Regions from separate parts of the Homo sapiens genome. Here all the other regions are linked to region 1. Evidence: promoter capture Hi-C in 16 types of primary human blood cells and fetal thymus (Javierre and others, 2016). All regions are on one chromosome and are shown on one strand. Each heading gives the region's core, a stretch centred on a gene start or on the middle of the fragment in contact. The rest is flanking DNA. Distances are from core to core; before and after follow the strand shown.

What was found. Contacts are between HindIII fragments. The CHiCAGO score rates a contact against its expected background, and 5 or more counts as called.
Region 2: a fragment that was not itself captured here is called in contact with the fragment with the promoter of CCT4 in region 1 in 1 of 17 cell types (neutrophils); the score reaches 6.6 in neutrophils.
Region 3: a contact is called between the fragment with the promoter of WDPCP here and the fragment with the promoter of CCT4 in region 1, in 10 of 17 cell types (naive CD8 T cells, non-activated CD4 T cells, total B cells and 7 more). The highest score is 12.7, in naive CD8 T cells.
Region 4: the fragment with the promoter of REL here is called in contact with the fragment with the promoter of CCT4 in region 1 in 3 of 17 cell types (naive CD8 T cells, naive CD4 T cells and total CD4 T cells); the score reaches 7.4 in naive CD8 T cells.

The regions. Positions count from the first base shown.
Region 1 is chr2:61,885,478-61,892,684 of GRCh38, reverse strand. CCT4 (chaperonin containing TCP1 subunit 4) reads left to right here and starts at 4,029. Exons shown (of 14, transcript NM_006430.4): 1 at 4,029-4,304. The coding sequence starts at 4,178. It also overlaps a transcript of COMMD1 not described here. RefSeq lists enhancers at 2,760-3,319, 4,259-4,338, 3,880-4,439, 4,440-5,001. The HindIII fragment of the contact is 8,675 bases long and covers 1-5,582 here.
Region 2 is chr2:63,832,981-63,840,187 of GRCh38, reverse strand. It overlaps a transcript of WDPCP not described here. Among named protein-coding and RNA genes, the nearest start is that of UGP2, 5.3 kb to the left of the region's middle. The HindIII fragment of the contact is 4,031 bases long and covers 1,202-5,232 here.
Region 3 is chr2:63,584,521-63,591,727 of GRCh38, reverse strand. It overlaps WDPCP (WD repeat containing planar cell polarity effector), which reads left to right and starts at 3,251. Exons shown (of 18, transcript NM_015910.7): 1 at 3,251-3,531. The coding sequence starts at 3,457. MDH1 (malate dehydrogenase 1) reads right to left here and starts at 2,765. Exons shown (of 9, transcript NM_005917.4): 1 at 2,682-2,765. The coding sequence starts at 2,684. RefSeq lists enhancers at 2,735-3,054, 3,566-4,086. The HindIII fragment of the contact is 5,833 bases long and covers 1-4,072 here.
Region 4 is chr2:60,877,586-60,884,792 of GRCh38, reverse strand. REL (REL proto-oncogene, NF-kB subunit) reads right to left here and starts at 3,219. Exons shown (of 10, transcript NM_001291746.2): 1 at 2,943-3,219. The coding sequence starts at 2,952. It overlaps REL-DT (REL divergent transcript), which reads left to right and starts at 3,479. Exons shown (of 3, transcript NR_033980.1): 1 at 3,479-3,561. RefSeq lists an enhancer at 2,807-3,476 and a silencer at 3,085-3,624. The HindIII fragment of the contact is 7,860 bases long and covers 1,537-7,207 here.

The DNA of each region.
Region 1 (7,207 bases), core at 2,780-5,279:
TTCCCTCTTGTTGCCCAGGCTGGAGTGAAATGGCACGATCTCGGCTCACCGCAACCTCCACCTCCCAGGTTCAAGCGATCCTCCTGCCTCAGCCTCCCCAGTAGCTGGGAATACAGGTGCATGCCACAACACCGGGCTAATTTTTTGTATTTTTAGTAGAGACAGGGTTTCACCGTGTTAGCCAGGATGGTCTCAATCCCCTGACCTCAGCTGATCCACCCTCCTCCGCCTCCCAAGGTGCTGGGATTACAGCATGAGCCACCGCACCTGGCCCCTCCTCTCTTCTTTTCTAACCTTAACCAGTTCCTGGCTCAGTCCTATTATTGAGGGTCTAGGACATCGTGGGCTATTCATTCTAAAGAGAACCTTCATTTGGATGGCTGACAAAGTATTATTGTTTTGTAAAACCTATTTCATAAATTATTAAGGAAATTGTATTGTTATTGCCAACATTCCCACATATGCCTTACGTCTGCTTGGATCTGACAGGAAAGTATTTTTGTTTGTTTGGTTTTGTTTTGTTTTGGAAAGTATTTTTTAAATATAGGAAAGCTGGCCGGGCATGGTGGCTCATGCCTTTTATCCCAGCACTTTGGGAGGCCAAGGCAGGCGGATCACCGGGTCAGGAGATCGAGACCATTCTGGCTAACACGGTGAAACCCCCTCTCTACTAAAAATACAAAAAACTAGCCGGGCTTGGTGGTGGGCGCCTGTAGTCCCAGCTACTCAGGAGGCTGAGACAGGAGAATGGCGTGAACCCGGGAGGCGGAGCTTGCAGTGAGCCGAGATTGTGCCACTGCACTCCAGCCTGGGTGACAGAGCGAGACTCCATCTCAAAAATAAATAAATAAATAAAAAATAAATATCAGAAAGTTTTAAAAACATTTTTACCCTTCATTAGCAACAGTGCTTTGCTTAAAGTACTCTACACAAGTGTTTATGTTTTTGTTTTGTTTTGAGATGGAGTCTCACTCTGTCGCCCAGGCTGGAGTGCAGTGGCATGATCTCGGCTCACTACAACCTCTGCCTCCCGAGTTCAAGTGATTCTCCTGCCTCAGCCTCCCGAACAGCTGGGATTACAGGCATCTGACACCACGCCTGGCTAATTTTTGTATTTTTAGTAGAGATGGGATTTCACCATCTTGGCCAGGCTGGTCTTGAACTCCTGTGATCCACCCACCTTGGCCTCCCAAAGTGCTGGGATTACAAGTGTGAGCCACCACGCCCGGCCATGTTTAGGTTTTAATATTTGTTGAAATCCCATTTTAATGGAGAAATAATGTACATTAACACTCTGATGAAAGCCGATGTTTAACATTTATTTACTGCCTAATCCCACGAACAAAAATAATTCCAATTTCACAGAAAAAGAAATGTTTGTAACTTGAAACATTTCAGATACTTAAAGCATGTCTCAAAACTTTAAGACTCTCCCAAGAAGCCAATAATGGCATCTTCCAAATTCTGCTCTGTCCTTTATGGCTGACAGATCGACTCCTTACACTGGTAGAACTAGTAGTTTAGTAAGCCCCTAGAGATCATCTAGTTCAACCCTCCTATTTTACAGATGAGGAAAATGAGACCCAAAGGATTTAAGTGGCCTTCCTTAGGTCACATAGCTAATAAGTAGCAGAGCTATTAATAAACTCAAATCCAGTATTTTACATCCCAAAATTAATGCATTTCCTCATCACCCACTTGTTTCCAACATATTACATCAGTTGTCTAAACAAATAACCATAGAATTTATGTGCTACTTGGGAGTATTCTGGTCCTCTGAAGAGAAGTCGGCCTCAGAGGTTTATGGATCTTCATTTCCTAGTGCTAATATCCTTCTTTTTTTTTTTTTTTTTTTTTTGAGACAAAGTCTTGCTCTATCACCCAGGCTGGAGTGCAGTGGCGCAATCTCGGCTCACTGCAACCTCCACTTCCTGGCTTCAAGGGATTCTCCTGCCTCAGCCTCCCGAGTAGCTGGGATTACACCCCCGGTTAATGTTTTGATTTTTAGTAGAGACGGGGTTTCGCCACGTTGGCTAGGCTGGTCTTAAACTCCTGACCTAAAGCGATCCACCCACCTCGGCCTCCCAAAGTGCTGGGATTACAGGCGTGAGCTACTGAGCCAGGCCCCTAGTGCTAATATGCTAAATGTGTGTTAAAGAACAACTTGGCGAGGTGGCTCTCGCCAAGCCTGCAATCCTAGCACTTTGGGAAGCCGAGGCGGGCCTATCACCTGAGCTCGGGAGTTCGAAACCACCCTGTCCAACATGGAGAAACCCCGTCTCTACTAAAAATACAAAATTAGCCGGGCATGGTGGTGCATGCCCGTAATCCCAGCTACTGGGGAGGCTGAGGCAGGAGAATCGCTTGAACCCGGGAGGCGGAGGTTGCGGTGAGCCGAGATGGTGCCACTGCTCCAGCCTGGGCAACAAGAGTGAAACTCCGTCTCAAAAACAAACAAAAACAAACAAACAAACAACACCACCACCACCTCATAATTACAAGATTAAGTACCTTTGAACATTTGTTTCTGAACCTACCACACGCAACTGTCACTTTGCAGGTGCTTAATAATTGTGAGCGAACATTCAACAAACCTCATTTCATAAACTTCCCTACTGAAATATAGTGGTCATAGGAGACCAGCAGTTTAGCTCATGGCTTCTGGTCCTTGCTTTGTATTGGAATACTGCTTCTATCTACTGACTCGTTTACCCTGGGCTTCAGTTCCTTCTTTGGGCTCCAGTTCTCTCACCTTTTAAGTAAAGGATTATTGTGAGGACTAAACGAGATATAAAACGTGTAAAGGTTTAGCACTGTGCTTAGCAGATAACGGAAATAAATGATCTTTATTATAATGTTTACGTTCCCTAAGAGTCAGTGGCTACGTCATGCAGGAGACACTAGTGTAGAACAAGCGGGCGGTGGTAACTAGACAGACCTGATTTGGCAGTCTGTCAAACCTCCACCACCCAGTATCAACCAATACGAGATAACTAACCTCGCCTCATTCCAAATCTCCCTTTTCTGACTCCCTTTCAAAATGAACAAAACTGCATAAAATGCAGGTCTATGTGGCCGGGCAAAAACAGACTCAGTCATATCCCTTAGAGAGTTATTCCGGCGCCCACCCCACCTCGCGGATAGATCCAGCCGGAGTTAAAGGAGGGCACCTCCGGGTGGGCGCGGTGGCTCACGCCTGTAATCCCAGTACTTTGAAACGCTGAGGAGGGTGGACCGCTTTGAGCCGGGGAGGTCAGACCAGCCTGGGCAACACAGCGAAACCCAGTCTCGCTATGTTTCGAATACAAAAATTCGCTAGGCATGGTGGCGGGCACCTGTCGTCCTGGCTAGTTGGGAGGCTGTGGCGGGAGGATCGCTTGGGCCCCGGAGGTCGAGGCTGCAGTGAGCCAAGATCGCCCCACTGCACTCCCGCCTGGACGACAGAGCGAGACTCTGTCAAAAAAAAAAAAAAAAAAAAAAAAGGCCGGGCTTCGTGGCTGACGCCTGTAATCCCAACACTTTGGGAGCCCGAGGCGGGTGGATCACCTGAGGTCGGGAGTTCGAGACCGGCCTGGCCAACATGGTGAAACCCTGTCTCTACTAAAAATACAAAAATTAGCTGGGCATGGTGGCGGACGCCTGTAATCCCAGCTACTCGGGAGGCTGAGGAGGATCGCTTGAACCTGGGAGGCGGAGGCTGCAGTGAGCCGAGATTTTGCGCCACTGCACTCCAGCCTGGGCAACAGAGTGAGACTGTATCCAAAAAAAGAAAAAAAAAAAAAAAAAAAGGAGGGGACCTCATAGCCGTGCAAGGTGGAGTGAGGAAATGCGGATGTCCTCACCACTCGCCTTTAAAATCGCGCGTTGTCATTGCTGCCTCGCGTAAAGGTTCCCCCGGCGCTCTTCACCCACAGCGCCCCGGGCGTACAATCTCGCCAGCCCGGAGCCCACCGCACGCATCCTCCTCGCCCGGCGCGCAGCGGACAGCCTCCTACGTCACGCCAGCGCCGCGCGGCAAGGAAGGCCCCCTTCTCCGCCTCCGCCTCCTCCCGACGCCGGCGCCGCTTTCTGGAAGGTTCGTGAAGGCAGTGAGGGCTTACCGTTATTACACTGCGGCCGGCCAGAATCCGGGTCCATCCGTCCTTCCCGAGCCAACCCAGACACAGCGGAGTTTGCCATGCCCGAGAATGTGGCACCCCGGAGCGGGGCGACTGCCGGGGCTGCCGGCGGCCGCGGGAAAGGCGCCTATCAGGACCGCGACAAGCCAGCCCAGATCCGCTTCAGCAACATTTCCGCCGCCAAAGGTATCACTCTCATGGCCTGACCCGCGGCGCCGCGGGGTTGTGCTCTGCGCTCTCATCGTGGGCTTGAGCGGGTTTGGCTCATTTCCCATTTCTTCGGGTGATCCTCTCTTGTCCTCCCTATAGAAGCAGCCCAGTGGAGGGATCCTTATTTCTGTTTTTCTGCCGATGATCGCCAACCCGGAGTATGGAGGCCTTTGGACTTGCCCCATTTTGCATCTTAATCTCCCTTAGTTTTTCATCCTGCACTGTGCATCATTCATATTGGAGCCGAAAGCAGTTCAAAATGCCGAGGATTGCATGCAGTCTTCACTAGGGATCTGACGCTTGAGGGCTGTCGCTTATTGCTTATTGGAACTGGTAGAATGCACAGTATCTTTCAGCTTTGTTATTCTTATTTAAAGAACTATTAAATAAACTTCACTTGGCACAACTGTTGAGACGAATTGGGTGAACTCTCCGAGTCTAAATTGGGGCGGGGCCCATTGTACTGGGATGGATGTGGGAACCGACTTACGTGTCGTGTTTGAAATAGTTGCGGAAAAGTTACGTTGATGTCGTCTCCGCATGTGCAGTGAAACATAGGCAAATCAAGAAACAATTATTTGTTTTTTTTGTGGAAGTGTGTGGCACACGTTGGAAATCAGGAAGACCAGAGTTTCATTCTCTGCTTCCGTTACTTCATGTCTTAGTGACCTGTAACCTCTGTGCCAAAGATTCACTTATAAAATTGGAGGAAAATGTTTGCTTTTTAGAGTTAAGATTAAGAGAAATCGAGTTGAAATAGAAAAATCTGGAAGGAAAAGTCAGGACAGAGGTTTAGAGATCTTGCCCGAGTGTATATTGAGTATAGTAGTTCTTTTGGGTTGGAGAATAGTAGTATGTTTACAGAAGAGGTGAGATTAGAAAGCTAGGTTGGGGCAGATGTTAAAGGCCTGGTGTCCTGGAAAGTATTTGGCTTAATCTCCCCCAGCTATGGGATCATTTCTTTTTAGCCATCGTGTAGGCTTGCTGTGAGGATTCAGTGAGAAAGCATATAAAGACCCACGTATATAAAGTACACCTTACATGTGTTTGCAGTCATCAGCCCAAGTAACTGGGAATGTGATGGCGCTAAGATAGGTAACGCTGGATGTAAGAAAAAGTAATAGTTTCTAACTTGTCCTAATGAGTTGGAAAGGTCAGAATGGCCAGATTTAGGAGTCATTTGTAAGTTTAGGAGATAATACACCTGGAAACGAAGGTTTGTAGGATAATTGTCTAGGGACCATAGTTGAAGCTTACATTTATTAGATTAGGAACAGAATGTTGAAAGATAAATTTTGGGTCGGGCAGGGTGGCTCACGTCTGTAATCCCAGCAATTTGGGAGGCTGAGGCTGGCGGATCACATGAGGTCAGGAGTTCAAGACCAGCCTGACCAACATGGAGAAACCCCGTCTCTACTAAAAATACAAAATTAGGTGGGTGTGTTGGCGTAGGCCTGTAGTCCCAGCTACTCGGGAGGCTGAGGCAGGGGAATAGCTTGAACCTGGGAGGCGGAGGTTGCCGTGAACTGACGTCGCGCCATTGCACTCCAGCCAGGGTGACGAGCGAAACTCCGTCTCAAAAAAAAAAAAAGATAAATTTGGGGGCCAAGAGAGTTTATAATATGGTTGATATTCAACAAACAAAATAAGTGGGAAATTTAGCAACCTTTGAAACAAAAGCAGACAAAGAACTGAAACAACAGAGGAGGGTGTGCATGTGGGAAGGAAAGGCCACCTAAGTTATCTGTGAAGATGACCCGTTATGTCTTAAACTCCTGGCCTCAAGTGACGGCCTGCCTTGGCTTCGCAAAGCGCTGGGATTACAGGCGTGAGCCACCGCACCCGGCCCCAGAGATGTTTTATAACATACTGATGATGACCAAAAGCTATGATTTGAGAGTTTTGGTTTTTGTTTGGTTTGTTAGGTTTGGTTTGTTTGTTGAGATGGAGTCTGTCTTGCTCTGTCCCCCAGGCTGGAGTGCAGTGGTGTGATCTCTGCTCATTGCAACTTCTGCCTCCTGGGTTCAAGCGGTTCTCCTGCCTCAGCCTCCCGAGTAGCTAGCTGGGACTACAGATGCGCACCGCCACACCCGGCTCATTTTTGTATTAGTAGAGGCAGGGTTTCGCCATGTTGTCCAGGCTGGTCTCGAACTCCTGACCTTAGGTGGTCTGCCCGCCTCAGCCTCTCAAAGTGCTGGTATTACAAGTGTGAGCCATCACGCCCAGCCTTGTTGGATTTTTTAGAAGAGTATCTTGCTCTGTAGCATTTCCATTGTGGTTTGCCCTTTTGGCGGTGTTGGCGGGCCACCTATCTACCATGTTCACATTAGTGAACAAAAGTCTTTGCTCTCAGAGATTACATACTAGACAGAGTAAACAAATAAGTGAATTATCTGTAAATTGAGCATTCCTAATTTGAAATACTCCAAAATTCAAAACACTTCTGGTCCTAATCATTTTGGAAAAAGGATACTCCTCCATCAGTATTTTAGATCTAGACAGTTCTGTTGCTGCTTGTCCTGTTTTAGGAATGGAGGAAATAGCAATTCTCAGAGCTCCTAACTAGATTGTACCATTTTGACATCTGAAGGAAGATGAGATGAATCCTCAAAATGTATTCTGCCATAAGCTGATTACAAATACTAGGCCAGGCGTGGTGGCTCACACCTGTAATCCCAGCATTTTGGGAGGCCGAGGCAGGCGGATCTTGAGGCCAAGAGATTGAGACCATCCTGGCCGACATGGTGAAACCCCATCTCTACTAAAAAATACAAAAAAATTAGCTGGGTGTGGTGGCACGTGCCTGTAGTCCCAGCTACTCCAGAGGCTGAGGCGGAAGAATCACTTGAACTCAGGAGGCGGAGGTTGCAGTGAGCCGA
Region 2 (7,207 bases), core at 1,968-4,467, 1.9 Mb before region 1:
TTCAGACTTTGCATTTCCACTTTAAGACTCAAATAGCCCGCACCAGGGCAGATGATTTGCCAGCGCCTTCTCTTAAGTGCCTTCAATAAACAAGTACGGTAATTACAGAAGAGTTTGAGGCTTTGGGCAGCACTAATCAACCAAGGTAAAGTGAGAATTTTTTAATGACTCATTGTCTAAACAAAGGAACTTTGATTTTTTGGTTCTACGTCTTTATATGGAAATGTTATTAGAACAAACAACACAGAAAAGGCTAGTGAAAAATTGTTATACTAGAGAATGACAACCATTGGTACTGTGTTTCTTACATGAAATCCAAAAAGATTACACTCAAAAACCTCTCGGCCGTAAAACGAATTTTCCCCAGACAAAACAAGTGTCTAAAATCCAGATGTCTACAGTTTAATAACAGCATTTGGAGACTGAAGATCTTAACAAAATCTCTACATCCTTTGTATACAGTACAAAAATTGTTCCAGCACTGAAAAAGCAGTCTTTACCAATGAGCATTAGTACCAAAATAAAATACTACCGAAAGATTTGGGCCACGTAGGGTTACTTAGCCTGCAAAAGATGAAGGACAATGAAGAGATTTATTTGTTGTTGTTGTTTTGTTTTTGTTTTTGTTTTGAGACGGAGTCTTGCTCTGTCGCCCAGGCTGGAGTGCAATGGCACAGTCTAGGCTCACTGCAACCTCCGCCTCCCGGGTTCAAGCGATTCTCCTGCCTTAGCCTCTCGAGTAGCTGGGGCCGCAGGCTCGTGCCACCGCACCTGGCTAATGTTTGTATTTTTAGTAGAGGCGGGGTTTCGCCATGTTGGCCAGGCTGGTCTCAAACCCCTGACCTTGTGATCCGCCTGCCTCAGCCTCCCAAAGTGCTGGGATTACAGGCGTGAGCCACCGCGCCTGGCGAGTTTTTAATTATACAAGGTTTATTATAAGAAACGATGATCAGTTACTGTATTTTCTGCCTTCATGGAAGATTAAAAAGGAAATGGGTTTTAATTGCAGCAAGAGCATTTGTTAATATCTAAGAATGGCATCTTGATTTATGAGTGATTGAATATTGAGATATAGTACCAAAGGTTGTTGTACACTTGCTGCCTCAAGAACTCTCCAAAAAGTAACTAACTACCCATCTTCAGGGGCTACATCTGTAACTACTCAGTCACTAGTTCTTAGAGAAGTAGCACTCTAGAAGCTTAGTTTCCAAATATTTCCAAACAGTACTTATAAAATGAAATTTCTTTATACATCGGTATAAATTTAAATTTTGAACCCACAAACACTTTGTAAGCGAGCTTCCCACTCTCTCAGAGCCACTAAGAACAACCTCACTTGACAAATCCTGTGGAGATAGGAAAGAAAGAGGTGGAGTTCTTAATGGCCATGGAGCAAAGACATGCTTAGAAAGCAGTTACCTATTTCCCTTTATATATTTCAGTCATTGAAAAATTGCTTTCTCTGGGCAAGTATGTGTATCTTTAATCCTTTTTTTCATAAGATACTACTCTGGAATATCCCTTCAAGGTGCATGATGTTGATAATCTGTATCATTAGAAATCTGTAACATCGGTAGATTTATAGATTTTACCTTTGCAGAAACCTGGGGTGGGGGGATCCAAAGAATGAAGATGGGGGCTGATAAGAGTGTGTACAGGGTTAAGGAGCTGGAGTGAAATGGATTGTGAATTAGAAAGAAAGCCTGGAAGCCAGTTTTTGTCTGGTTCCATATGCGACCATCCACGGATGATACAAATTCTGCCTATAATTTCTTCCTTCTTTCTACTTTCCCATAGAAACTTGAGGAAACTCAGTTTGGTTTACCCAGTCCCATATCCTAGGATGTATAACAACCTCACCATATCTTTTTCCTTTGCTTTAGACAGGAGCTCTCTATCAACAGCAAGGAAACCATGTCTGTGGTCCTATTTCTAAGCATCTTTTTTGGTGCCTTTTTAGATTTAATGCTTGGCACAGTGTCTGGTACATAGCGAACATTCCATAAGTATATATTGAATGACCAGTTTAGTGCCACTAAATCATTTTAACTCACAGTGTTGTATCCTACTCTCCACTCTTTTTTTTTTTCTTTGAGATAGAGTTTCGCTCTGTCACCCAGGCTGGAGTGCAGTGGTGCGATCTCGGCTCAATGCAACCTCCACCTCCTGAGTAGCTGGATTCTCCTGCCTCAGCCTCCTGAGTAGCCAGGATTACAGGTCCCCACCTGGCTAGTTTTTGTATTTTTAGTAGAGACAGGGTTTCGGCGTGTTGGCCAGGCTTGTCTCAAACTCCTGACCTCAGGTAATCCTCCTGCCTCAGACTCCTCAAGTGCTGGAATTACAGGCGTAAGCCACAGGCCCGCCCCTACTCTCTGCTCTTTGAGAGCCATATAAAACATAAAAAGTTTATATTTAGAGATAACGTTTTTTAAGTTTCAGTTATTTCCACCTAGGAGATGAACCTGGGCCAAATTATAAGAATAATAGCAGCAAATGCCCTGATGACTTTACAATAAGCTGTGTTAACTACCCATGAGCATTATCTAATAAGGAGTGGTGTAGGAATTGTTAAAGGTATGAAATAAGTATACAGATCATCAATGTGTGTGGTCCTTTATTTTTTCTTGCCTATCCTCTACATTCAAGAAAATAAAGCAGTGTAGTTTGAGCGAACATGTACTAGACATAAAAATTTCTGTGTCATGCCCAAAGTGTTTAGCCAAGAGACCAGGCAACAGTTATCCACTGGACTGTTGCCCATACTCAATATTGGCTCCCATCTGTACCCATCTAAATCCTAGGCCACCCACATGAGAGAGGAAAAAGGGGCTACTGTTACTCAGTCAGCAGTTGCCAGTAACTGACTACATCTAACAATAGGGCATTTCACTTGAGTAAAAAGGTAACCAAACGGGCTTAACTGGAAAAAGATATCAAATTATATCTATGAGATGGACTACTAATGAATGAGTTGTCTAAAAATGAATGGGTTTCCAAATACTTGAGGAAGAGAAAGACTTCATTCTTTCCTGTTGCCAACACCCTGTTAATGAACCAGGAAGTTTGCTGAAACAAGTTGTGAATTTAAATTATGACATATCCTTCCATTTGTTCACAGTATGATTTTTAAGTTATATTTGAGAGTTATATAACTTTTACATCAGAGCAGTAGCAATTATTTCAAATAACTGAGATGCTTTAAAAAATGAAGTTAGTTCACATTATGGATAGTTAATTAAAGGTTCATAAACCAATCTTCTAAGTGGTTTTAAAAGTCATTAGGCTCCCAAGCATGTTTAATCAAAACATACATTATCTTGTTCATGTTTATCAATAATTCCCCTCTAGATTCTCCTTTGAAAGTTGAAGGAAGCAGGTCCTTACTATTTTGTTTTCTGTTTAGTCTGTTCTGCATGTTCCCCAGAGGAGAGTGTTGGTGAGAAATGGTGACACCCATGAGGTTGTTGTATTTCTCTCATGTGCAAAACTGTATCTCCAAATTGTGTCCGCCCCTTTGATGATAGAGGCAATAGAGCCATTCCCTTTAGTGAATGGCCCAGGAAAAAACATAAATAAACTCCCTATATTCTCTCAGGGTTTTTAACAAGCGTAGATTGTTATGTGATTATAATTTGAAAAGATAAAAAAACTAATAAGAAACCATCTTTTACCAAACTCATAGAATAAATATTATTTTGATTTACTGTAGTGATATATGTATAGAAGTTCAGGTTACTTATTGACTTTCAAATCCTCACAGAGAAGAGTTGTGAAAGAGAAAAGCATTCAGTTTAATTCTATTTTTTCTGCCTCTTTCAACTATATGAAAGATTCCCTGTTGTGCATTCCATCAAATGACTTTTGATGGTTTTCTAAACATCTCTGCCTCTGGTCTAGTTTATTAAATTTCCTGCTAGTGCCACCACTGGAAAGGAAAGGATAAAGAACTTCTGTTTCCTAACTTAGTCTCAGGGAATGTATTTTAAGCATTTCACACCCACCAACCTAACGAAATATTAAAGAGAAGATTCTCAGCTGGGTGCAATGGCTCACAGCTGTAATTCCAGCACTTTGGGAGGCCAAAGCTGGTGGATCATCTGAGGTCAGGAGTTTGAGAGCAGCCTGGCCAACGTGATTAAACCCCCTTCTCTACTAAAATACAAAAATTAGCTGGGCTTGGTGGCAGGCGCCTGTAATCCTAGCTACTTGGGAGGCTAAGGCACAAAACTCACTTGAACATGGGAGGCGGAGTTTGCAGTGAGCTGAGGTCACGCCACTGCACTCCAGCCTGGGCTACAGAACAAGACTTTGTCTCAAAAAATAAAAATAAAATAAAGAGAAGATTCTCAGGACTGCTTTTTGGGTGAAGATTAAATAATTGAATAATTCTATGTCATTAGATGGATAATATGATTAGAGAATAAAAGGTAACTACTTTTTCTCTCTAATGAAAAAGAGGAGGTATGTCATATTTAGAGAAAAAACTACAGGAAAAAATATGAAATACTAATGTTAAGTTCTGGTGCCATTTTATTATTTTTTTTATTTAATTTTTTTTTTTAGATCACATAGCTACTATGTGACAGAACCAGGATCTGAACTGAAGCTATCTGACTCCAAAAACCCACAGGGAGGAAAATTTTCTCCCTTCGGTTTCTGGAGGTTGATTTGCTACCCCTCTCCATCAAAACAGAAAGGAGTGCAAATGGTCAGGCCTTTATCCGGGACAAGTAATCTCTTAATGACTGAAGTTCTCTAGTAATACTGTTTTCTTCTTTTTTTTTTTTTTTTTTTTTTTGAGATGGAGTCTCGCTCTGTCACCCAGGCTGGAGTGAAGTGGTGCAGTCTCTGCTCACTGCAACCTCTGCCTCCCAGGTTCAAGCAATTCTCCTGCCTCAGTCTCCCAAGTAGCTGGGATTACAGGGGCCTGCCACCTCACCTGGCTAATTTTTGTATTTTTTTTGGTAGAGACAGGGTTTCACCATGTTGGCCAGGCTGGTCTCAAACTCCTGACCTCAAGTGATCCGCCCACCTCGGCCTCCCAAAGTGCTGGGATTACAAGTTTGAGCCATGACGCCTGGCTTCTGGTGCCATTTTAAATTGCACTTCAATTTTTTTTTTAAATTTCAGTAAGAATACACAGCTTAAAAAAAAAATCCAGATAGTACCAAAATGCCAATAATGAATAGCAGTACTTTTTTCTAGAAAGTACTTTAAAATAATGATGAAGCTTTAATTTATAAAACATGCATGCATTGTTGGATCAGTCAGACCAAAACTACTTTGGATGCCACAAAAAGGGCACTTCAGCTGCTAACGAAAAATATCCGATGTCTACGAAATCAGAGTTTCAGAGCCACCAGAGCTGCACCATCCAGGAGCTCCATGTTGGCTGCAATGTGCTGAGCACAGCCAAGGAGGTAGGTGTTCCATTATCTGGACATCTACTTCAGGAACCAGCTACTGAACATACCACTCTTCACCTTGGATAAGAGGCCTGTGGAATTATTAGATGTTTTTTTATCATCCACTCTACCTGTAGAGATGCTGCTCCTCTTGGCCACCTTCCAGGAAGCTCTGGTAAATGCTGCTAGCAGCTGGACTGCAACCAGGCCAGGGGCTCCCAACTTGCGTGCCCCAGGCCTGAAAGAATCAATATGCTTCACAGCGTTAAGTCATTCAAAACATATAATTAGAAAATTCTGGTCTATATTACCTCTCTCACAACTGCTGAGCAGCATATTAAAAAAAAAATGAGAATTTGGAGCAGAGAGCAGTACTAGGAGAAAGACAGAGGCCATTCTCAATTATCAGTGACTTACAACAAGAGTTTACAAAGAAAATGTTAAGAGGTCAGCAACTTACTGAAGTTCTAGCTTTGCATGGATCTGTACAGCAACAAATTAAAAACAGACTATTTGGGTAATAGAAATTTATTGAAGACTGCTGTCTGGATTTGGAGCATCACAGACAGACTGAGAGACGTTCAGCTGTTTGATATGTAAGTCTTTCTAACACAGACCAGCATGGAATGGAGACCAGATAAAGTCACAAATGGAGTAATAGGATAATGAAAGAAAAAAGAATACAGATAGACCTTTGCTTAAGCTATGTTAGGCTGAAGGTTTTACCAGTTTCCTAGTGAGAAGGAATAAAACAGTGATAAAACCACATTGATAATTATTTGAAATTTGTGTGTGTGTGTGTGTGTGTATGTTGGCATACACTTACACATGTTCATATATTTATTTATAATTTATATTCTTTCTTATTCTAAAGAGAATTTGAGGCCAAGCAAGGTGTATATATTCCTAATTAAGTTCATTGCTTAGTAAACTGACCATACTATAGTTCATTCTTATAGTGGAAATTCAATTTAGTCATTCTCATCTAAAATCCTTTTTGTTGTCTTTAGATTGTCATGTTAAAGAACCTCTTCTTATATTATTTTTTAAATGACTTTTTCTCAACCCAGTGAACCCAAGTGATAACAGTCTAGATTCTGGGTCTAGAAAGAGTTAGGAAGTAAGCAAAATTCCTCAACATTATAGATGATATTCTAGATTAGGTATGCTATATATTACATGGTCAATCTCTGAAACTGTAAACACTGAAGTCTCTTCAAAAGAATCTCCACAAAATATGTACCATCATGTAAGGGTTCGTTGGTTGGTTTTAATTTATTGGTGTTTTTCTGTTTTCGCATATTGGTGTCTAGGGAAGCAGAGGAGTACATTGGAAAAAGCAGAGTTTGGAAAATAGGTCTTTTTTTTTATTTCAAATTTTGTCACTTAGAACCTGAGTAACCTTGGATAAATTACTTAGATAACCTTATGAACCTTAATTTCCTCACTTAAAGATGAGAATAACAACTAATAGCTTGTCTCACCAGACAGAGAGTTATTATATAATACAGAGGTGTTTGTTTGTTTTTTGAGATGGAGTCTCACTCTGTCACCCAGGCTGGAGTGCAGTGGCATAGCCTCAGCTCACTGCAACCTCCACCTCCCGGGTTTAAGCGATTCTCCTGCCTCAGTCTCTTGAGTAGCTGGGATTACAGGCGCCTGCCACCACACCTGGCTAGTTTTTATATTTTTAGTAGAGATGGAGTTTCACCATGTTGGCCAGGCCGGTCCTGAACTCCTGACCTCAAGTGATCCTCCCGCCTTGGCCTCCCAAAGTGCTGGGATTACAGGTGGGAGCCACT
Region 3 (7,207 bases), core at 2,002-4,501, 1.7 Mb before region 1:
TGAGAACAGTCTGTCTTTGATATGGATTTGCATTTCCACAAAAAGTATTTGTTGAATGAAGGAAGGTTAGGGTATAAAGTATGAACAGATACTACTTCAATGAACAGCAAACTAGGATAAGAAAAGGGGGGCTGAAGAGAGTGAAGATCACTATCTATTAAGTTTAACTTCCCATAAGGTCACCTATATGGTTAGAATAATGCAGTCAATTTTAGTAGCTACTTAAAAACATGTTCACAGTATCACAGTCCTTAGTGAAGGGGTTGTGGCCACCTAATGAACAGTTAATTCCACCTCAGCAGTTTTCTTCTGTGTCTTTGGGGAAATTACTTTCCCAGGTAGGTAATTCCATCTTATTAATGGTAGTATGAGGCTTAGTGTTTGAATGTCTGAAGATGAAACAGAGAAAGAAAAGTCCATGTATGGTTCTTTCTGCTCTTCTGCAACATTGCAGTTGAAAAGCAGGAGGGTGGGAGAGTCCTGCTGACTTTCACAATGTTATAGTGTGAACATAGGTTACTATTCTTTGCTCAGATATCTGGGCAGTGTGCCAAGGTCCAAAAAAGGAACGTCTTTGCTCTTAGCAGGGCACCAATGACTTTCCTGCAGATGCAGGCTCTGTGCTAACTTCTCAGCTATAAAGATTGAATTTAAGTGTCTGTTATTCCACAGACAGAGCCACATATTTCTTTTTCACTTTCAAATTTATATATATTTCTAAATTACATGTATTTCTATAACACAAAAAACTAAGCAGTACCATTTAGATTCCTTCATACAGTTTATTTTGCTGTCACTCCCTACAGACAACAAGCAAAGAATCCTCCGCTTTGAATGAGCTTACAGAAGAAGGCTCTTTTCTAACTCTGTCCATTCACACACCCTCCTGAGGGGGCAGGGAAATTGAGTCATGTGTGAGTTTGCTGTCAGTTCCAGCAAACTGCCAGACAAATTCTTCCTCATGTTCTGTCTCTGTGTTATCTGGCACCCCAGTGACCTTCCAACGGTGGGGCCTTGCTAGGGAAACTAGCTAAGAATCTGGGGCCCAAAATCTCTGTGACCTTGGGAAAATTATCTGACCTCACCAGACTACATTATAAGAGTAGATAATATAATCTCCAAATTCCCTTTTAATTCTACAATTCCAGTATTTTGAATGGCAAGGAATAAAGCTATCAAGTAATCTACATGCTGATAACATATTTGAGTTTGTATATGCAGTATGAACTGGTAACTTCATCCGGAATCTCAGCTAGTAAAAATAAGTTTTCAGGGAGTTGAGTACACTGTCTCTCCCCCGCTGCGAGACCTCACTGCGGTGGTCCCTATAAAAATAAAAATTCAGAAAGACTTGGTAAGTGTAAGACACAATATAGAAAAATGGCAAGAGTGTGAGACTCTTGGAGCAAATCACATTCTCTTTGGGTCTCGATAAACTCCATTTTAAGATCTGAAGTGGGGAGATTCGTCAAGATGACCTTTAAAAGATCCCATTCAGTTCTAAAAGCAAAAAGTCCAAGGTTATCAGATAATAAGTACCTCTGCTTTCTAGCTAAGGTTATTAGGACAGAAACTACCGAAACCATAATTTAAATGACTAATTATGTGACAAAACATTTAGGAAACCTAGGTTTAACACCTACTGGAAATTAGTAGCTGTCTCCACTGGCCCCGTTAGACAGGCAGAGAGAGTAATGCCCTTGCCTTGAAAACGTGTCTTTTCAGGTTCTGGGAAATTTCCAATTCATTCAAACATTTCTCCACATTCTCCAGCCGTTTTAGTATTTTGCAGATAAAGTAGGAAAAACAGTCGCAACTATAAATACAAGCCATTGTATTGATAGTATGAAGCGATTTCTCTGAGTTTGATGACAAATGTCACCTTCAAGCAGTACGCAGATTATTCCTACGCCAGAGTTCCTTCACCAACTCTCCCCCTCCCCCTCTCTTTCAGCAGAGACAAGCGATGGAGATGCAGGTTACCCAGGTCTTCCATGACAAAATGGTTACTCTGTTACATTTAAGAGAGGTGCTTCTGGAATTCACAATATACAGTTCAATAAAGAATATTTGCAGTAGTTATTTAGTTAGTGATGCTGTCACTTCAATATATCCTGGCATTACAAAAAAGGTCAATGAACGGGTTCCAAATAACATTTTGAGAAATTAGATATGGCGGAAACACGTCTGCTGCAAACGCAGATCGTAATCTGGAGCACCTGGTAAATACTACCTTTCCAGCTTTTTGCTTTCAAGGTCCCTGTGACAAAAGCCGTTATAAACACTGTGGGCAAATGAGGAGAAAAAGGGGTTAGGACCCAACCTTTCCCTCCCATCGCAAACCTTATCGTCCTTATCAAACACCGTAACGTCCTTTGGAAAATAGCTGCAGCGTCGCATTTTGTCCTCCCGTCATGCAGCAGGATTAAGATCGCTCCTCTCCCAGGACAACTACTTCTCCAGAGTCCTCCTAAGAGCGCCCCATACCCCGCAAGGTGGAAATCAATCCCTTCCCATTACTGGGTCACTGCGGCAATCCCCAGAAGATGAGTCCGAGCTTGCCAAAGGGCGCGAAGGACAGTGCCTTGCACAGCTGCCTCCCAAAAGTCCCTAAAGTGCAAGAAACCCCACTCAAGGGCGCGAGGGCCAGAGGTGGGCAGGAACCCGGGGCCCACACTCACCATGATTGAAAACTGCGGGGACAATTTCAACAACTGCAAAATGAGCCTCAGAGAGTCAGGTCACCTCTACCGCGGAACTGACTCGGAGAGGGCGAGCGGTGTTAGCGAGAAAAGGCTCCGCTCCCGACGCGGCGCTCTCTGGGAACTGTAGTTTACGCTGCCCTGGTTGTGGCGCAATCTCCAAAGCATTTCCTTCAAGTGTTGAACTACACTTCCCGATACCAGAGGTTTTTTTCAAGCTCTTCTCACTGCGCTCTGCGCCGATTGCAAAGTAGTCCCTGAGGATGAGCCCCTGTGATTGGAGGACGACAACAAACGGATGGTTTGGGCTCAGGAGGAAAGGACCTGCCTGATGGAGCCCGGCAATTGGCGGGAGAGATAGCGTGTGTAACTCTAGGGAGGGGAGAATCACCCCTTAGCGACATCACCCCCACGCGCGTGACTGAGACTGCATCCTCCCATGAGGGTAAACGTGGGAGGTAAAGAGACCTTCCGCTGCGTAAAGCTGGATCGACCCGGAAACAAAATCTTTTAAAAAACGATTGACACTCTGGAGGGGCGGGGGAATTGATAAGTTGGGACGACCGGACAGCTTCTCAGGTTGCTAAGCGACGAGGCGGGAGCGCACGCACACCCTGGCTGCTTTGTAGCACCTGAGGAAACTGTGGCGGCGGCGGCGGCGTCCTGGAGACCCAAGAGACCAAGCGAGCGTGTCGCTCCCTCTCGGGTCCGAGGACCTAGCCTAGGAACCTTCTGCCCGGGGTAGTGTCTGGTGATGAGGCGAGAGTTTTGCTGGGACGCCTACTCCAAAGCGGCCGGGAGTCGCGCTTCTTCCCCACTCCCGAGACAGGTGAGCCCTGGCCCGAGGGCAAGGGGTTTTCTTTTAACCTTAGGATCCGGAATGCGGTTGGTGCGCCGTCCCGCTTTGCTTTTATCCGCTGTGCGGATGCCTGCAAGCTCGCCGGTCCCTTTTCTGAGCGGAGTATGAGGGCTGTGGGAATGCAGCTATTTTGGAGGGGGTGGTGCCCTGGAGTAGGTGCACCCCCGACCCCAAATGGAGCTCTTCCAGAGTTATATCAAAAATATTTATTGAGCATTTACTTTGTAGGAGGTGAGCCTCTCCCTTCCAGGAGGTCACAGTATACGGTTCTAATTTGCTCTAAGCCCTCCGTGAATGTTGAGTTTTGTCCATTCCCTTTTGGAAGAAACAGGATGCGCCTTAAACCATCTTGAGTCTTAAAGTTATGCCAAACAGGCATTTCTAAGGAAAGACTGGCGACTGAAGGGGAGACACTGGTTGTTTAGTCAGTCAGTCTCAGCTGGTAAAACAACTTAAGAGGTTCTCTTTAAAATTAATGCTGCCAAGAGAATTGCTGTGCTTTTTGAAAGCTTGTTTCTTGTGGATGTTAAAAGGAAGATATGATGCTCGGGAGTAGCATACACAGCATATACGTAATGAAAATGAATAAAACATCTCTATTAGATAACATTGTTAGAACTTCCGTTTTTTCTCTGTCACTGATAAATGAATGCCAAGTAATATCTTTCAATTTTTCTCTATTTCAGTTTGGAGGATTTGCTATTTTTGGAAAGAAATGTAATGCTTTACTTTTAGCATTTATTAATATCATACCTGAATGACTCTCCTTGTATCTCTTTATTCATTTGGCTCTCAGACAACATACTTTCCTGGTTTTCCTCTTTTGTTACTGGTTCTCAGTTCTGCGGAGTTTCTAAATTTTTTTTAGTTGTGATCTCTTAACATTGGGGTGCCTGTATTCTCTGTCTATACTAAATCCCTCAGTGAGCTAATTCATAAGTTGCATCACTTCAAATGCTACTTTTAATGTCAAAAACTCTCAAATTTATGTGTCTAGTCCTGAATTAGTAGGTGTGCATTATTCTCAAACCTAGGTTCTCTGAGTTTTACTTTTTACTCTGAGCAGTTACGAAAAATTTCTTCCATTATCCTCCTAAATGAATTCTTCTACTAGCTGCTAACAGAAAGATTTTTCCATGTTGTTGTCCTTAAAAATATCATGATTTTACCTAATGTAAATGACGAGTTAATGGGTGCAGTACACCAACATGGCATGTATACGTACATATGTAACAAACTTGCACGTTGTGCACATGTACCCTAGAACTTAAAGTATAACAAAACAATCTCATGATTTTTGTCCTCGATTTACAGTGAATTTTACAAGGGAGACTTTTTATAACCAGAATTCTCACTGCAGTCCTATAGCAGGACAGGACATTCCCATACTCCAAGAAGGCCACAAACATGTAAGCCCCCGTATTCCCATCCAGTCCAGATATACAGAATTGAAGTCACCTGTGTGGTAGTTCACGGGCCTTGTTCTGTTTATTGCTAGTTGCCCTTGTAAATCAGGTTAAGGAGCATATTAGCACTGATTGTAAGTTACTTTTCTCAGGTAATATAATACACTGCAAGAGAAGATGTTTGGTAAGGTGGGTATATCAGCACATTTCCAATTATACTAATAAGATTGTCTGTGTTCTCTTCCTTTTGAACCGTCTTTGGTAATAGCTAATGTCAAGTAGCACAATATGTCATTGCACTTTCACTGTGAGTTTGAATCTCCAGGTGGTTTGTGAATGTGTTGCAGACATTCATTTTTTGTTAAGGCAACAAACAGAGCATTAAACTGTTATGCTATATTTGGAGTTATGCTTAACATTTTTTTTGCCCAGCCTCGCGTTATTTAGTAAGGTAATATTTAATTCAAATTGTAGAAAATGTTTGAAATACCATTCTAACAACATCCAGCAAAGATATTAAAGGATCATTAAGTTTCAAATCTCTGAAATAGAATGTTGGCTCTTGATACCCAAGGCACTTTGGAACTCACAAGATCTTATGCTTTTTTATAGTATACAATTATTTAACCACAGCTAGGCGTGGTGGCTCACACTTGTAATCTCAGCACTTTGAGAGGCTAAGGCCGGAGGACTGCTTGAGTCGAAGAGTTTGAGACCAGCCTGGGCAATATACTGAGACCTTGTCTCTACAAAAAATTTTTAAAAAATTAGCTGAGTGTGGTGTTGTGCACCTGTAGTCCCAGCTCCTCAAGAGGCTGAGGTGGGAGGGTTGCTTGAGCCCAGTAAGCAGAAGTTGCACTGGCATCACTGCACCCCAGCCTGGGCGACAAAGGGAGATCCTGTCTCAAAAAAAAAAAAAAAAAAAGAAAATTATTTAACCTCATATTAATTTTATCTCTAGCATATATAAAATTGTTATAGATCTAGTTAAAACTCATTCATCTTAATGTTTTCTTTAATGAAGTTCTATTACACTTTTAAGCTATTTTATAACAATTTTGTTATAATCTGGTTCCTTTTTGTTGAAAGTAACAATGTAATATTTAGAGAGTACTATAATGTAAAGATGCCTTTACATTGCTGTCTGTCTAAGTAGCTACATTTTTAGAAATATGTACTTTACCATAGGATCATGTATTTAGTAAACAGCCATGTTAGATAATGGAGTGTGATTGAAAATAGGATTATTTATAAAGCAAGGTTAAGACTTGTGAAATAAATCAGAGACCAAATTATTACAAATATTTTTTAAAGGAAAGATTGCAGAGCTAAATAGTTGACCTTAGCTGAAAAAAAAAACTTTGGCTTTTTACCCTTTTTAAAATTTAAGTGTAATGCTAGGTATCTTGGAAATTATTTGTTGGCTTAAGTGACATGCAGGACATTTTTGAAAGTATTCTCAAGTAATTTCTTAAAATGAATATGTAGTATTTTAAAAATAATTATTACATTCACTTTAGTGAATCTTAAACGTAGTAATTCCAAATTTAGTTATGGCAAAAATAAAAGTGCTTGTAATTTAATTTAAAACTGTAGTCTCAATGAGAACCACTTTATTACTATGTCTTACAATTTTATACATACACAATTTGTACACATTTTAAACTATAACATTTGACTGGAATTTTCAGGAATGGTGAAATACAGGATATTTTAATAGGATAAAAGTTTTAATCATGATCATTACGTAGTCAAGTTGCTTTGAGTGGTCAAGTGGTAGAATTGAGTGGAATAATTTGCTAGGACCTCCTCTTTTAACTTTAGTTAAACAAGATAAAACATTATTCATCAGGATTCTGTTTGATAATTACATGTTTCCAGAAGTATGAGCTACCTAACCTTGAGTTTTTTTCAAGTGAAAGGAGCAGAATTTATTGGTCTTAACTTTACTACCTAGCTGTGTGACCTTGAACAAGTTTCCTGGTCTCTATAAATCTTCATTTATTAATACAATGAGGCTAATAACACAGAGTGATCATTATATCTGGAAACGTAATGTAGCAATTCCATTCCTTTACATACCCATTTAAATCAAGAGATGTACAAGATGTTCATAAGCACTGTTTCTAAGAGCACAGCTCTAGAAATTACCCATATGGCCATCAATAGGAAAATGTAAAAATATATTGAAAATGAATAGAACATAGCTACACACCAACATGGATTCATTGAAATCCATT
Region 4 (7,207 bases), core at 1,970-4,469, 1.0 Mb after region 1:
TTCATTTCTGTACTTCCTTCCTATTGTGTGACACAGAAGAACCATACTAAGAAAAATGTGAAGAAAAATAAATTATCTAAATTTTAAAACATTTTACCAAAGACAGCACTAATTATTAGTTAACAGAGCTATATGCCACACAAAGACATTTTGCTCTTTTTACTGGAACAATGAGAAGGTTTAAATTCAGACATAAAATATCTAATTTTACTTATATTAAATAGAATAAATATACAAAAGCAACAACTGCCTACTATGCATACCTTAGATGGGTTTGGGAACATTTTTCTTCACTATATCTATTATTAATTATGTCAAAAGACTGTGATCAAGGTGTAATTTTTTTAAAAAGCAACGAAAGGCAGCTTAATACAAGCTGTGAAATCCTAATTAATCTGCTAACTTATCTAAACAAAATTTAGAATCATATTATATACATGATTTTAAACTACATTCTAACTTACATAATTTTGCTTATAAGATTATGATTTATGTTACTTTTACATTATAGCTATCACATATTCAACTACATATACCTATTTACATATGACATCTGGTAAGAAATGAAGAAATGCTCTTAAATACTTCGTAATGAATAAAAGTTACTTTCTGAGGTTTTAATACTACCTTACTACAAACAGAATCTAAACTAGACAATGAAAAACTAAGCAATTTCTTTTTTTTTTTTTTTTTGGTCACTCTTCCGGTTAAATTACTGTTTCAAAACAGAATAGGAATTTAGAATTTTATTAGTGAATCTTTTTCTTTCTCTAAGGTCTTTATAACAGATTAAGGAAAAGTACACAGATTCCTGTAAACATTTTTTTTTTTTTATTCCAGGCCTGGCAGTTTTCTAACAACTGAATTACAATTTAAATAACTTGTTACATTTTAAATAGTCCCATTTTAATGCAACTCTTAGAAAAGACCAAAAAAAAAAAAAAAAAAGTTAATCACCCTTCAACTTCTAAACCTTTAAAACTTTCCATTTCTTTAAACATTTCCTCCTTACTTTTAGGGAATCCTTCCTCCTCACAACAGCACAAAATACAGTGTCAATGAACAAATTTAAATTGTATCAAATTTTAAAATCCTGTGGGTCTTACAATACTCTATATAGAAATGGTTGTTTCCTCTCTCAACTGAAAAAATTAGAAGTATTAAATTCATGCAATATATCAATAAAGTTTGATTAAATCGCCAAGAGCCTGAACTTACTTATAATGCTAGGCATTCTCCATTACTTCCAAACAAAATCTTTCTGATAACCAATACATTAACAAAATATTTGAAGTCATCTTAGCACTTCTAATCTACACATGCTTTGAATTCATAAATTTACACGATTATCTGAAAGTCTGGTGTCACTTAAGTGGGAAAAGGGAAAGTTGAAATATTTTAAACTACACTTAGTATTCTCACAACCACAAACAAACTGAAATCAAATGTCATGTGAAACACCCCAATTTCCTTTTCTGCCTACAGCAATAGCTATGGCATTGTTCTGCTCAACCTTTTAAAAAGGTTCTTTAAGCTTCCTACTTCCTCATCTCTACTAGACATCAGCCTACTTCTGAGGGTCACTGGACCAGGCAGTTTGGGGATAAGAGTCAAGTTCATAAACGGGGCCCCCTCTTCATTCTCTTAGTACAGCATTTAACATGCATTTAGCCCTCCCTGCCTTTGCTCACGCTGCTTCCTCTGTCTGGAAAGTGTCCCCCACTCACCTTGCCAAAATCCTGGTAAAAGACCAACTCGACCCCAGGCTACTTGATTTATCCCCCCGCCCCGGCTCTCCCGTCCCCCTCAACCTTAAGCTCCAGGCAGCCCCAACCACATCTGTGTATATAGGAGACTTTCTTGCTCTGCAATGTTTCTTACAAACTTATTCCCCCCCAAAGGGAGAGATCGAGCATTTATTAAGGGAAAATATATAGTCACATAAGTGATAAAGTTGTATTCATTCCTACTCATTATTTTAAAGCTCGGATATTCTAAAACTCCTCTTTCCCCTTATTTCCAGCGAGGAGGAAGGGGGATTCAACGTCTCTATTCGTCAGATTAGGAACCTTGAGCTTTATCTCACAGTAAAAACTACATTTTTTTTTTTTTTAAATAGAGACAGGGTCTCCCTCTGTCGCCCAGGCTGGAGTGCAGGGGCGCGATCTCGGCTCACTGCAACCTCCACCTCCCAGGTTCAAGCGATTCTCCTGCCTCAGCTTCCCGAGTAGCTGGGATTACAGGCGCGCGCCACCACGCCCCGCTGATTTTTGTATTTTTAGTAGAGACGGGGTTTCACCATGTTTGCCAGGCTGGTCTCAAACTCCTGACCTCTGGTTATCCACCCGCCTCGGCCTCCCAAAGTGCTGGGAATACAGGCATGAGCCACCGCGCCCGGCCTACACTTGGTCGAAGCAACATTAACACTTAAAATACCACGGATTTTCTAATTCGTGTTAAAATACCACGGATGATTTTTAAAGCCGTGACACATTTTGTACAACTGTCAGTACAAGGGGGATCACCTCTTTGCATTTGATGAAATTAAACTAAAAAGGGGGAGAGAGCTTGCCCGAGGTCTGAAGGTTCCTCATTCCTGTTCTAAAACATAAAACCACCATCTTCAATACATATACATTTTTAATGAGAACTCTTCGTCCTCCTTTGGTTCGCTTATGACTTCCCTAATCCTAAAATCAAGTCGTTGGGAATTTCTAAGGTTCCTGCTATGACAACAGGATCGAATTACAGAGCGTGGCTTGGATTCTGCACGCAAACCCTGAAGCAGGTAACTTTTTTAAAAGCTGACAATTTTACCATATGAGATTTTAAAGACAGAACGCGCCCCAGCAAAAACTGAGCTCCCTAAACTCACTGCGGCAGGACCCCCTTCAGAAGAGCTCCTTTCCCCCGGCCCAGGCCCGCGCCCCATGAACACTCACCGGAGGCCATGGCTCCGCTCCCCGCACCTTCCCGCAGGCAGCTCCCAGCGTCCTGGCCGGAGGCGGCCGCAGTCAGTCAGTCAGGAGGCCGAGGGACCTCTGCCGGCGGGGCCCCCAGTCCCCCGACCACCCTAGAGGCCTCCTCCTTCTTCCCGCCCTCCGCTGGGTTTGCGGCTCACACCTTCCCAACCCCTGAATTCTTGCACCCCGGGTCACCCAGCGTCGCCGTCCACCGTACGGGAGCCAGGGGCAGGGGGCGGAGCGGGGAGAGCCGAGTGCTGGCCCAGCCGAGAGGCGAGCAGCCTGGCGGGAGGGGAATTTCCCGCGGCTGACGTAGGCCCGACGCAGCAACCCTCACCCGGAGGCGTGGGCGGGGCGACCTCGCGGCCGCCGCGCGCGCGACCGCCCCCAGCGCCCCGCCCCTGCCTGTCCCCGCGCACGCTCCCCGCCGGCCCCCACGCATACGCCCCCGGCGCTGCTGCGGCGGCTGGCTTGGGAGGGGGTCGAGGGAGCGGGAGCTTGGGGTGGGCTTCGGGAGCGCAGGGAACGGCGGGAGCCGGGAGGTGACGGCTAGCAGCGTGAGAAGGCCGCTGGCTCCTGAGAAATCCCCCTCCTCCAGGTTGTTCTTCCGAGTGTGGTTTAAAGTTCAGGAGCGGGCGGGAGGGTGCGGATGACGTAGAGAGGGCCGGCCGCTGGGGAGCTTTTGGGGGCGCGCGGGGCCGACTCTCCCGGCCTGGGAGGGCGACGGCCGGGGTTTTCGAGAGGTGGTTCCCCCTCTTCCCGACTTCGCACATGCAAATCTCCACCCCCGCGCCAGCGGCGGGACGTTGCGCCCTGTAGGGGGAAGTGGTGCTGCGGCGGGGGTCCTGTCTTCTTCTGTAATTCCTGTATTTGCATACGGGGACCCCCCCCCCGACTGATTTTTTTTCCTCCATCTAAATTGCGAGGGTACTGTGAACTTTACGTATTTTACCTACTGAAACCCGTTTAAACTCAAAAGGTCCGCACTTGGAGTTCGTTGTCTCATTAGGCAGTGCACTGAAGTTTAGTGGACACTATATCCTGAGATTTCACACAGATGCCAAGAAAGGCGGAAATGGAGCACACATTTAGTGCATTAAAGGACCTAGGATAACTTCGTTTCCTTCATTTGAATAGTACCTGCTATGCATCAGATAATGTCCATACTTAATCTATGACGTATTTATTATTCCTAACTTTATAGATGAAGTATTCGGGGTTCAGAGAAGTTACTTCAACATACAGTACTTCAGAATGCTGATAAAAGGCACAGTTTAAAGCCAGGGTTGTCTGACTCCAAAGCTCCATGCCCTTGCCCCTGTCCCTTACTAGTTAAAATTAGTACGGAGAGGTAATGGGGAATATCAGCCTGCCATACAAGTGCCCAAAACTGGGGGACCCATATGGGCAAATAATTTAAAATATCCTGCCAACCCCAAACTGTTCTTTCCACGAAATGCGCAATGTACAACAAAAGAATGAAACAGTTTTATTATTGGATATGTACTAAAACGTACCATGATGCACATCACAGGCAATCCACTGAAGAGAGTGCAAAGACCAAAAAAAAGGAAATCTCACCTTTTCATATGGTCAGGCACGTACAATCCATTACATACCTATTAATTGTCTTTATCCAAAGGAAAATAATGGGAAGTTATCTTGGAACCAAGAGCCAAGGCTTAAACCCTCCTAGAGACAGAAACATGGAGCACCATCCTTGATGTTCACATTTCCAAGAGATGGCTCCGAGGCCCGCAAGAAAGACCTTCTGAGGACGCAAAACTAGCAAGAGGCTTATTTAGCTTTTTAAAATATGTACATACATTTCAAAGAGACGGAAAACATTTTCAGTTCTCTGAAGGAATTTCAAAATGAAAAGTGACTGGGGGAGAGGAAAGTTCTGAGGAGGTGACATTTGAGCTGAGTCCTCAGTTTAAGAAAGAGCCGGCCAGGCGCAGTGGCTCATGCCTGTAATCCCAGCACTTTGGGAGGCTGAGGCAAGTGGATCACGAGGTTGGGAGTTCAAGACCAGTCTGGCCAAGATGGTGAAACCCCGTCTCTACTAAAAATACAAAAATTAGCCAGGCGTGGTGGCGGGCGCCTGTAACCCCAGCTACTCAGGAGGCTGAGGTAGAGAATTGCTTGAACCTGGGAGGCGGAGGTTGCGGTGAGCCGAGATCATGCCACTTGCACTCCAGCCTGGGCGACAGAGCGAGACTCCGTCTCAGAAAAAAAAAAAAAAAAAAAAAAAGGCCATTCACAGGGAGATTCAGGGAAAGAACATTCCAGCTGGGGGAACAGCAGGCAGCAGGTCCTTGAGATAGGAAAGAGCACAGTCAAGAATTGTCCCTCATCCTCATGACCTTCAAACGTCTCATCAAACATTCACTTTCATGTAGTTGAAATGCCTATTTTAATAATATATGGTTAGAACACAACTCCCTTTCATATATAGATATAAAATATTTTTGTATGGTTTTTAATATATACTGAATTTCCCAGGAATGCAAATATTGTATAAATTGAGGGCAGACTTTTATTAAAAAATGTTTTAAAAGTTGGAAAATTGTAACTCTGACAGCTCATCAATACAACACAGTATGCCAGCTGTGGTGGCTCACACCTGTAATCCCAGAACTTTGGGAGGCCGAGGCGGGTGGATTACCTGAGGTCAGGAGTTCAACACCAGCCTGGGCAACATGGTGAAACCCTGTCGCTACTAAAAATACAAAAATTAGCTGGGCGTAGTGGTGTGCTCCTGTAATCCCAGCTACTTGAGAGGCTGAGGCACGAGAATCGCTAGAACTGGGGAGGTGGAGGTTGCAGTGAGCCGAGATCACACCATTGCATTCTAGCCTGGATGACAGAGCAAGACTGTGTCTCAGAAAACAAACAAACAAAAAACCACAGTAGTATCAGGCTGCATTTGCAGCACTTGCATTCACACTGATTCTAGGTACAAGTACAAACATCTGGCAACTTCATTATGTCTTTTTTTTTTTTTTGGAGACAGGGTCTTGCTCTGTCACCAAGGCTGGAATGCACTGGCATGAACACAGCTCACTGCAGCCTCCACCTCCTGGGCTCAAGCTATCCTCCTACCTCATCCTCCCAAACAGCTGGGACTACATGCCCGTGCTACCACACCCAACCCATTATGTCTTTTTTTTTTAAGAGACGGGGTCTTGCTATGTTGCCCAGGCTGGTCTCGAACTCCTGGGCTCAAATGATCTTCCCGCCTCAGCCTCCCAAAGTGCCGGGATTATAGGCATGAGCCACTGCATCTGGCCCCATTATGTCTTTTGATGTAGTTATGCCCAAGCATTTACATACTGTAGTCGATATTATTTTCCTAGAAATTGCTTTCTTTTTAATTCTTGATATTGCTGTTAGAACATAATTTTTATTTATTTGAAAATATTCATGTAAGGTAGATTATGAATTTCACTTCAACCTACTAAAGGGGATGTTACAAATATATGTTATAAAACAGTGGGCACTGATCTGAAAGGGCAGAGAACCTTTAGAACCTTTAGAACTGTTGATGCTAAAGAACTTACCTTAAACATATGAAAAAAAATTTTTTAATGATGCAGCAGTTAAAAAGTCACAATCCTCCAGGAAAGAAACAAATCTGATTAGCAAATGGATGTGTTCTGAGTCTGTGATCGCAGAATATGAAAAAGTAAGAGTGAGGGGTCAAAAGTGAAATTGCTCCATAAGATATTTTTTTGTTGTTGAAAGAACAAGACACCCATCATTAAATTGAATGGATACAGTTAACAACAGTTTCAGAATAAAATCAAACGTTGTGGTCACCATAGGTTCATAGAACTGGAACAAACATATATTATTTTGGCATTCTTGAGCTTTCCCAGGCAGTAACTAAAGGTGACCGAAGTCATCATCCTAGGGGCATGCTAGTATTTGTTTAGGTCTGTTAGTGTGGGGCATGGATAAAATAATGTGTGCTCAGTATCTGCAGTAGTTACAGGCCAAGGCTGAAGCCTAGTGGAGAACAGGGCTCAGAGAAGCCTCTTCAGAGTGTCATCAAGGAGAGTCTTTGTAACCCACTACCCGGATTAAGATACAGAACGCTTCTAGCCAGCCACTCAGAAGGCTGCCTCGGAGCTGCTTCTAGTCAATATCCACCCCCAAAAGGCACCCGATATTCTGACCTCCTTGACAATAATTAGTTGTATCTGTTTTTGAACTTGATATGAATGGATTCATACAGTGTA